2 separate regions of the Homo sapiens genome follow, and region 1 is linked to region 2. Evidence: promoter capture Hi-C in human tissues and cell types (Jung and others, 2019). All regions are on one chromosome and are shown on one strand. The core of a region is centred on a gene start or on the middle of the fragment in contact, and the rest is flanking DNA. Distances in the headings are between cores, read along the strand shown.

Region 1 (4,834 bases), core at 1,074-3,573, 210 kb after region 2:
CTAATGCTTTTGATAGAAAGGCTACTGGTTGTTGACCGCCTCCATGTTCTTTAGTGACCACCCTACTCTATTGTCTACATTCACAAAAAGATGACATGATTTTCTGAAGAGGGTAAGGCTAGGATGGGAGCAGTGATGAGTCTTTCTTTTAATTTCTCCACTTGATTAACTTCTTTAGAAGTCCATATAAGGGGATGCGTTTCCTCTTTAGTTAATTTCTTATATAAGAGCTTACTTTTTAATGCATATGAGTCCATCCATAAACGACAGTACCCAACTAATCCCAGGAATTTTTTAAGTTCTTGTTTGGTTCGGGGCAAGGGTAGAGACATGATTTTCTCAATTTTGGGGGGTCTTATTTTTCTTTTATCTGCACTTATTAAATGGCCTAGATATTTAACTTTAGGTTCTACATATTGAAGCTTTTCTTTTGAAACCCATAACCCTTTATCTTGTAGGTGGTTAAGAACTTTTGTAGAAAGTCCAGCTACCTTTTCTATCTCTTCCTTAGATGTAAGAATATTATCTACATATTGAAGAAAGCATAACTGTTTTGGGACAATAATTTTTTTTAAATACTTGACAAAAAAGATTGGGAAAATCTGTAAATCCTTGGGGTAAAAACTGTCCACCTGTATTGTTGCTTTTGCCTAAATAGGGGTCCTCCCACTCAAAGGCAAATATATTTTGGCTGTCTTTAGCCAAAGGACATGCCTAAAATGTATCTTTTAAGTCTATTACTGTGAACCACTGATGACTATATGGAATTTTACTAAGAATAGTGTAGGGGTTAGGCCCAACAGGATGAGTGGTTTGAACTATTTGATTGATAGCTCTAAGATTTTGCACTAATTGGTATGATTCATCTGATTTTTTTGACTGGTAACATTGGAGTATTGTATGGAGACATAGAAGGTTCAATAGCCCATCTTTAATAAGTCTTTTGATTACAGGCTTTAACCCTATTCTTCCTTCTAAAGGAATAGGGTATTGCTTTCTTTTTACTATTTCCCCTGGAGTCTTTAACTGAACATGTGTTGGAGGAATCTGTAAATTTCCCTGATTACCTTCCCTTGACCAGACAGCTGGATGAATGTATTTTTTATCTGCTATAGCTAACAAATTTAAAGAGGTTAGGAAACCTTTTGGACTAACTTGTAAACCTATACCTAACTTTAACGTTAAATCTCTTTCTAACAAATTGGCTTTTGCTTTAGGAATTAATAAAAATTGTATATAAACTAATCAATTTATATATTTAACTTCTGTATTTTCTAAAACTTTTGCCTTGAATCCTTCCCCTTTAACCCCAGAAACTGTTAATTCCTTTGGGGAACAAACTAAATGAGCTGAAGGAAAACAGACAGGTGAATGGGCTTCTCCTGAGTCGACTAAAAAGGTGATTAATTTATGTCTGGGTCCCACCTCTAAATTTATCAAGGGCTCTTGGTGGGACTCAAAATAGAAAAGTCAGAGCCCCTGACCCCCCTATTCTTCTTTAAAAGTGGTCACAAGTGGGGGAGCTTTTTCTGCCTTTTCTAACTTGGGACATTCCCTTTTAAAACGACCTGGTCTCCCGCATCTGTAACATCTGTCTTTTCCTTCCTCCCTACCAAGCCCAAAGCTTCTTTGCTTCTCCTCTTTATTTTCACATCCACAGCTCCTATGACACTTACTTTGACATTTTTTTCTAAAATACTGACCTGGCCGGGCGCGATGGCTCACACCTGTAATCCCAGCACTTTGGGAGGCCGAGGCGGGCAGATCACGAGGTCAGGAGATCCAGACCGTCCTGGCTAACACGTGAAACCCCGTCTCTACTAAAAATACAAAAAATTAGCTGGGTGTGGTGGCGTGGGCCTGTGGTCCCAGCTACTCAGGAGGCTGAGGCAGGAGAATGGCGTGAACCTGGGAGGCGGAGCTAGCCGAGATCGCACCACTGCACTCCAGCCTGGGTGACAGAGTGAGACTCCATCTCAAAATAAATAAATAAATTAATAAATTAATAAATTAGTTTAAAAAAATAAATACTGACCTTGCCTTCTTTTTTTGTTTTGCATTTTTGAATTCCTAAACTTTTTCCTTTTGCCTCCCCTAGAGAATTTTATAGGCCCAGGTCTAGATCTGGTCTCTGGCATCGTCTGCCAGAGACTAGTGAATTTTGCCAAAAGATTTTTGCTTTTTGCCTTTGTCTTTCCTTATTTTTTTACATATAGTTTTTGAGCCTTTTTAAATAACTTTTTTATTGATTTTTTAAATTTTCTAATTTTTGTAACTTTTTAGTAATGTCTGGCCAACTGTGAGTAACAAAGTGCAGTTTTAACATTCCTTGCCCAAGAGGGCTTTCTGGGTCTAAGTTAGCATTTTTTTTATTTGTTCTTTTAATTTATCTATGAACCTCATAGGTCCTTCATCTTTCTTTTGTTGGACATTAAATGCTTTGGAAAGGTTTTGGGGTCTGGGTGCTGACTTTTGAATCCCCCTGATTATTATTTTTTAAAAAATTCCTTATATTATTTCGGTGGGCAGCATTATTTTATCCCACTGCGGGTCCTGAGCAGGGAATTTATGATTTGCTGCCAGAACATTTTGACCTGGAGGATGTTTACGTTCCCAGATCGTATTTCTTTTTTTCCTTGAAAAAATAATACCTAGGATGCACACTGATTCAGCCCAAGTATATAACTGTGGGCCTAAAAACTGATCAATTTGATCTGCCACCCTGTTAGGATTATTTAACAGTGGCTTTAGTTCTCTTTTTATACTCCAAACTTCAGACCCAGTAAGGGGAGCATCCACAAAACCAATAGCTTCTCCTCCTTGGGGAACTTTCCTTAAAGGAAAGAATGTTGAAGTTAACTTTTTTGGGGGGCAGGAAAAGGGAAATTCTGAATATCCTTCTTACATTGTTTTAATTTTTGTTGGAGTCTTTTCTTTAAAGAAGGATATTTAGAATTTTTAGGCTCCTGGGATTCACAAGAATCTGGGTTATATGGGGGAGGCCTGGAGTGGCAGGGGGGCCTGGAGTGGCAGGGGGGCCTGGAGTGGCAGCTGGGTCAGGGATCAGGTCCAGAAGGGGATCTAGGACAGCAGCAGCTACCTGGGGAGGTGTCAGCAGGTTATTAAGAAACGGGGGAAGGTGGTCTAGAGGGTCCTATCTCTTATTAGATAAGGCCATTTTTGACTGTTTTTTATTTTCTAGTCCCCCTTTGATCGTTTTTAAAGGATAAAGAATAATATAGGCCCTTGCCGCTAGCATAAAGCATAATCAATTTTTCTTGTGACACAGGACTTTTGCTATAAACATATATTATTAAAAGTTGACAGATTTAATCTTTATCTGACCTAAATTTTGACCAAAAAACCGCTGGCTTGAGAATTGGCTTTTTAGTCCAAATAAAGCAACAATACTTAATTATCTGCTGCTTTTTTTAAATTTAGTTTTTTTATTATCTTTCCAATACTTTAACATGAGCCTTAAAGGACTATCGGGAGGGATTTGATAACTTGCATCTTTTTTTGCCCCCGATTTACTAGAAACCTTTCCCATATTGAATATCAGGTAGACTTAACCTCTTAATCCTAGAGATTTCTTGTCTATCCTGTTTTTTCCTGGCTTGCTTATATTTTTAACCTTAACGTGCTTGAGGTTTCGTTTTCCCTGAGGAGGATTTAACTCCTCTTTTTCTTTCTGGAGGCTTTTTACACTCTTCACTCGCTTTGTCCTACCTGGCCACTTTCCTCACGGGAATTTAGGCCCCTCTTAGCATTGGCGTGCCGGTATAAACCCCAAGGCAAGATCCGCCTTAAGCCGTATGAGGTAGCCACGGAACCGCAGGCAAGACTCACTCGCTCGGTCCAGCAGTAGGACTTATCATGATTTACACAAGCAACACCAGCTGCAGTGAGGCTTGTGACTATTCACACACACTTTTAACCTCCAGAATATCCCGACCACCAAGCAAGTACTTTGTCGCACCCTTGCGACGTTTCTTTACTTTGCTCTGTGAACAGAGTTTATCTGGTCCCCGAGGCAGTGCAATGCAAGCCTATTCGCCGTTTTCCACGTTGCTGAGGGTCCGGGTTTATTCATCACAACAGGTAAGTCCGGATTCCCAGTCCCTGAGGCCACCGCAGTAAGGCAGTGGGGCGCCTCCCCTTGGTGGGGGGGCGGGAATCAGAGACCCCGACCCGAAGGAGACTGGGTGATCCCAGACGAGCCCCCAAGACTGTTAGAAATAAATCCTTATTCCCCGATGTCACAAAGAAGAATCAGCAGACGAAAAGCTTCCTCAGCAAGGTGATTTTTACCTTCTGCAGAAAGAGTGCTGCCCGTCCGCAATCCTGCCACGATCGCATACAAAATAAAAAAGGCACTAGAATATTTATCCCTTACGCATGAGGTCCCTATTGCCATGTCACTGGCTGGAGCCAGACCTTACCACCTAAACTAAAACCCGATTGGCTAACAGTTTAAACTTTTTTAAATAGGTAAAGGCAGGGAGGAACGAAGGAAAAAAAGGAAGTTGCTTAGGAAAGGACTTAGAAAAGTAATAATATTCCCAAATAAGGGAGGAGTGTACGCTGCAATCTGGGAAATGCCTGGACACGTCCAGCACGAATATTTTGACTAAGGTACAAGGACGTAGAATGTACTACGTGCCTGTGAGCATGTTTAACATAGATATTGAAGTCAGAGTATGCTTATTCTGTTACATTTGCTACATAAGGCATAACAGAGAGGTATTACTATAAAATAAGAAACTTGAAGAAAGTTAGTTCTGAGAAAAGATATCAATAACATTTATGATTTAAAGGGGAAGCTTTGAAGAGG
Region 2 (4,656 bases), core at 1,813-4,312:
TTGTTACTCATGGGCTCAAGCTATCCTCCTGCCTCAGCCTCCCAAAGTGCTGGGATTCTAGGCAGGACTTCTAACACTTACTGATCAGCATCATTCCTAGAGAGCATCATTGCCTTGTTCCTGATCTTGAAGAAATTGTGGATACTTATTCCATCATACTTAATTGTATGCAGCTTTTATCAACCTGAGAAAATTCCTCTTTGTTCCTAACTGTGAGTTTTTATCATAAATAGTCACAGAAGTTCATAAAATGCTTTTTCTGCATATTTTGAGATAACCATATGCATTTTCTCCTTTAGTTAACCGACGTGGTGAATTACAGTAATAGATGTTTATAATGTTGAACCATTCTTACATTCTTGGAATAAACTCTACTTGATCTTCATGCATTTTCTTTGGAAAAAAAATTCTTTTTTTTTTTTTTGAGACAGTCTCGATCTGTCATCAGGCTGGAGTGCAGTGGTGTGATCTCGGCTCACTGTAACCTCCACCTCCTGGGTTCAAGCGATTCTCCTGCCTCAGTCTCCCTGAGTAGCTGGGATTACAGGCGCCTGCCACCACGCCTGGCTAATTTTTATATTTTTAGTAGAGACGGGGTTTCACCATGTTGGTCAGGCTGGTCTTGATCTCTTGACCTCGTGATCTGCCCGCCTCGGCCTCCCAAAGTGCTGGGATTACAGGCGTGAGCCACCGTGCCAGCCCGGAAAAAAAAATTATTCTTTTTTTTTTTTGGAATGAAGTTTCGCTCTTGTTGCCCAGGCTGGAGTGCAATGGTGCAATCTCGGCTCACTGCAACCTCTGCCTCCCGGGTTCAAGCGATTCTCCTGCCTCAGCCTCCTGAGTAGCTGGGATTATAGGTGCCCGCCACCACGCCTGGCCAATTTTTGTATATTTAGTAGAGACGGGGTTTCACCATGTTGACCAGGCTGGTCTTGAACTTCTGACCTGAGGTGATCCACCTGCCTCAGCCTCCCAAAGAGCCGGGATTACAGGCGTGAGCCACCACGCCCGGCAAAAAAATTATTCTTAATTGTGGTAAAATACACATAACATAACATAAAATTTACCATCTCAACCGTTTTGAAGTGTATACTCAGTGGCGTTAAGTATATGCACACTGTTATGCAACCAATTTCCAGAACAGTTTCGTCTTTCAAAACAGAAATTCTACACTCATCAAAGAACAAGTCTCCATTTCCCACCCCCCTGCCCCCAGCCCTTGGCAATCACCATTCTGCTGTCATTTTTTTTTTTTTTTGAGATGGAGTCTTGCTCTGTCGCCCAGGCTGGAGTGCAGTGGCGCGATCTTGGTTCAATGCAACTTCTGCCTCCTGGGTTCAAGCGATTCTCCTGCCTTAGCCTCCCGAGTAGCTGGGATTACAGGCACGTGCCACCATACCCAGCTAATTTTTGTATTTTTCGTAGAGATGGGGTTTCTCCATGTTGGCCAGGCTGGTCTCAAACTCCTGACCTCAGGTGATCTGCCTGCCTTGGCCTCCAAAAGTGCTGGGATTACAGGTGTGAGCCACCGCGCCCGGCCCTGCTTTCTGTCTTTGTGAATCTGACTACTCTAGGTACCTTACATAAGTAGAATAATACAGTATTTTCCTGTATGTGACTGGTACTGTTATTTCACTTAGCATATTGATGCTTTTTTTTTTTTTTTGAGATGGGGTCTCACTCTATCACCCAGGCTGGAGTGCAGTGGTGCGATCTTGGCTCACTACAACCTCCATCTCCTGGGCTCAAGCAATCCTCCAGCCTCAGCCTGCTGAGTAGCTGGGACCACAGGCGTGCACCACCACACCACCTAATTTTTTGTATTTTTGGTGAAGATGGTATTTTGCCATGTTGTCCAGGCTGGTCTTGAACTTGTGAGCTCAAGGAGATCCAGGAGATCCACTTGCCTTGGCCTCCCAAAGTGCTGGTATTAGAGGCATAAGCCACCACACCTGCCCCATACTGATGCATTTTTACATGACATTAGTGAATTCAATTAGCCTAGTATTTTATTTAGAATGTTTCATATCAGCTGGGCGCTGTGGCTCACGCCTGTAATCCCAGCACTTTGGGAGGCCGAGGTGGGCGGATCACGAGGTCCGGAGATTGAGACCATCCTGGCTAACACGGTGAAACCCTGTCTCTACTAAAAATACAAAAAATTAGCCGGGCATGGTGGCGGGCGCCTGTAGTCCCAGCTGCTCGGGAGGCTGAGGCAGGAGAATGGCGTGAACCCGGGAGGCAGAGCTTGCAGTGAGCTGAAATTGTGCCACTGCACTCCAGCGTGGGTGACAGAGCGAGACTCCGTCTCAAAAAAAGAAAAACAAAAGTTGTTTTAGCCCCAAAGTACCTCATTTCTCTTTTCTTTTAATTTAATTTTTTTTTTTTGTTTTGTTTTGAGACAGCATCTCGCTCTGTCGGCTAGCCTGGAGTGCAGTGGCACGAACACGGCCCACTGCAGCCTCGAACTCCTGGGCTCAAGCGATCCTCTCGCCTCGGCCTCCCAAAGTGGTGGGGTTACAGGGCCACCGCGCCCGGCGCTAAAGTACCTCATTTCTATCATTCATCGATTATTCCCTAATATTAATTGGGCACAACTATGACTCATTTCCGACCCCGCAATGGGCTCTCTTGGTCTCCTTCTCCACCTTTCTTTCCCTCTTCCTCTTTTTATTTTTTGAAAGAGGAAGATCCAGGATGCAAGAGTCCCGACAATCATACTAGATATGCGAAAGAGAAAAAGCCGGAAGAAAATACACAAAAATCATAACACTTTGAGGGTGTGGCTTACGGGTGTTTTTTTTTTTTTTCATTTTCCTAACTCTGCAGTGCTGTTATATTCCATCCACAACTTCAAACAAAGTGCCACACGGCCGCAGTCCCAATCAATTCAATGACAATTGTTAGGGACGTCCTCGTCCCGCCCGGCCCGCGGACCCCGGCCCTTCCTCCTTGACAGGCTGGGGTCCAGCCCCGAGACATTCCTAGGCTCCGCCCCCGAGCAGACGCGCGCGCTCAGCCCCAGCGCAGAGAACCAATCACCATCCGTTTCCACGCTCAGTCCCTTTTGGCTTCTGCCCTCAACCAAAATGGCGCTAGCTCGGAAGCTGCCGAGGTGCTAGGAGTTGCCGAAGCAAGTCCGGAAGCTACCGAGCGAGTCCGGAAGTTGCCGAAAGGGAGCAGCGGGGAAGGAGGATGGCGGATATCATCGCAAGACTCCGGGAGGACGGGATCCAAAAACGTGTGATACAGGAAGGCCGAGGAGAGCTCCCGGACTTTCAAGATGGGACCAAGGTTCGTGTCTACCCTACCCTTCTCCCCCTCTGCGGCGTGGTGCGCATGCGAGGCGGGAGGAGGCCTTAGGCGAGAGGTTGCGCATGCCCAGAGGGCAGCGTCCACTGCCCCTACCGCTCACATGCAGAACTCGACGCTGATTGGGCTGAATTTAAGTAGGGGGTGAATTCGGGCCTGTCTGCCCCGCCCCCTGGCTCGGCCTTGTAGCAGCATTGGTGGGGGAGGCCGTCAGTCATCACAAGCGGGTTGGGGTTGGGGGTTGATCTCAGTGCTTGGGCAGACCCCACGCTGGAGGAAACCCAGGGCCGGGAGTGGTCCTCGGGTATCTGGGTTTCAAGGCTCATGATCCTTTGTAGATGGAAGGGCCTTCTGAAAACACTTAGACCAACTGCCGCTGTTTAGAGTGGAAAACCAAGACCCTGGGACGTGCAAAGCCGGAGAACGGGCCCAGAGGTCAGGTCTCCCAGACAGGGACTCTTTAGCAGCCTTCCTGCTGCACTAGGGGCTTGTTGGGACAGATGAGGGTTGGGAAGTAAAGAACCTCCCACTTTTCTCCTTTTTGCCAGGCCCCCAGATCCAGCCCCTCTGCCCGCTTCTCCCCCAACCTACAACTCCAGGCTTCCCTGCTTCTCCTGTAGTTGCCTCCTCCCGGAGTGCTTTTCCCAGCTGCCACTTGTTTGCAGAGTAGGGAACCTCCCAGGGGCAGCCCCTGTGCCCAGCAGAGCAGTCAGGCAGGACATGCACATTGAGCAAATGAGCACATGCCCCCTGGCCAGCACCGTGCCGAATCGGGCAGCTAAGCATCCTAGCCCAGTGCAGTATAAGTGCCCTGAGAGCAGAGGGGAGCTGCATGGCTGGAGTGATCCGCTGTATGAAAAGATATCTTCTCTAAGAAGAGACAGGATGTGTGGTGTGGGTTCATGCCCCCATGTGCTGGGGGGTTGGTGGCGTTGGAAGAAGGGGCTGGCAAGGGGGATCCTGGATGGAACAGACATCAGAAGGAGAGATGTGAACAATGGCACCCCAAGATCAGAAACAGGTGGTGTTAAATAACCAATCGCCAGCACTGATTGAGTGCTCACTATTCGAACATTGTGCTACATGCTTCACACGTTTATTTCCTACAATGTGAGATAGGTACTGTTGTTGATTCCGTTTTACCGATGTGGAAACTGACTTCAGAGATGCAGCATGGTGCGGCAGTTAAGAGCGTGGGCTCCTCTAACCATATCCTGTCGAGAGTTCAATCTCCAAACCTCTTTTCTCTGCACCCACCCCCAGTGTTATCTCTAAAAACTCTCCCTGCCCGGATTACTCCCAGATGCAGCTCTCCAGTCATTAACTGTCTCTTAAACCTGATAT

The links. The method cuts DNA at HindIII sites, captures the fragments that hold promoters and counts their contacts. A contact is called where the count stands out against the background at its distance.
Region 1: a fragment that was not itself captured here is called in contact with the fragment with the promoter of AIP in region 2 in 2 of the 25 tissues and cell types used here (lymphoblastoid cells and spleen).

Annotation. Positions count from the first base shown.
Region 1 is chr11:67,691,361-67,696,194 of GRCh38, forward strand. No RefSeq gene overlaps it. Among named protein-coding and RNA genes, the nearest start is that of ALDH3B2, 19 kb to the left of the region's middle. The HindIII fragment of the contact is 4,464 bases long and covers 92-4,555 here.
Region 2 is chr11:67,479,964-67,484,619 of GRCh38, forward strand. AIP (AHR interacting HSP90 co-chaperone) reads left to right here and starts at 3,063. Exons shown (of 6, transcript NM_003977.4): 1 at 3,063-3,294. The coding sequence starts at 3,196. RefSeq lists an enhancer at 2,905-2,964. The HindIII fragment of the contact is 17,225 bases long and covers 2,565-4,656 here.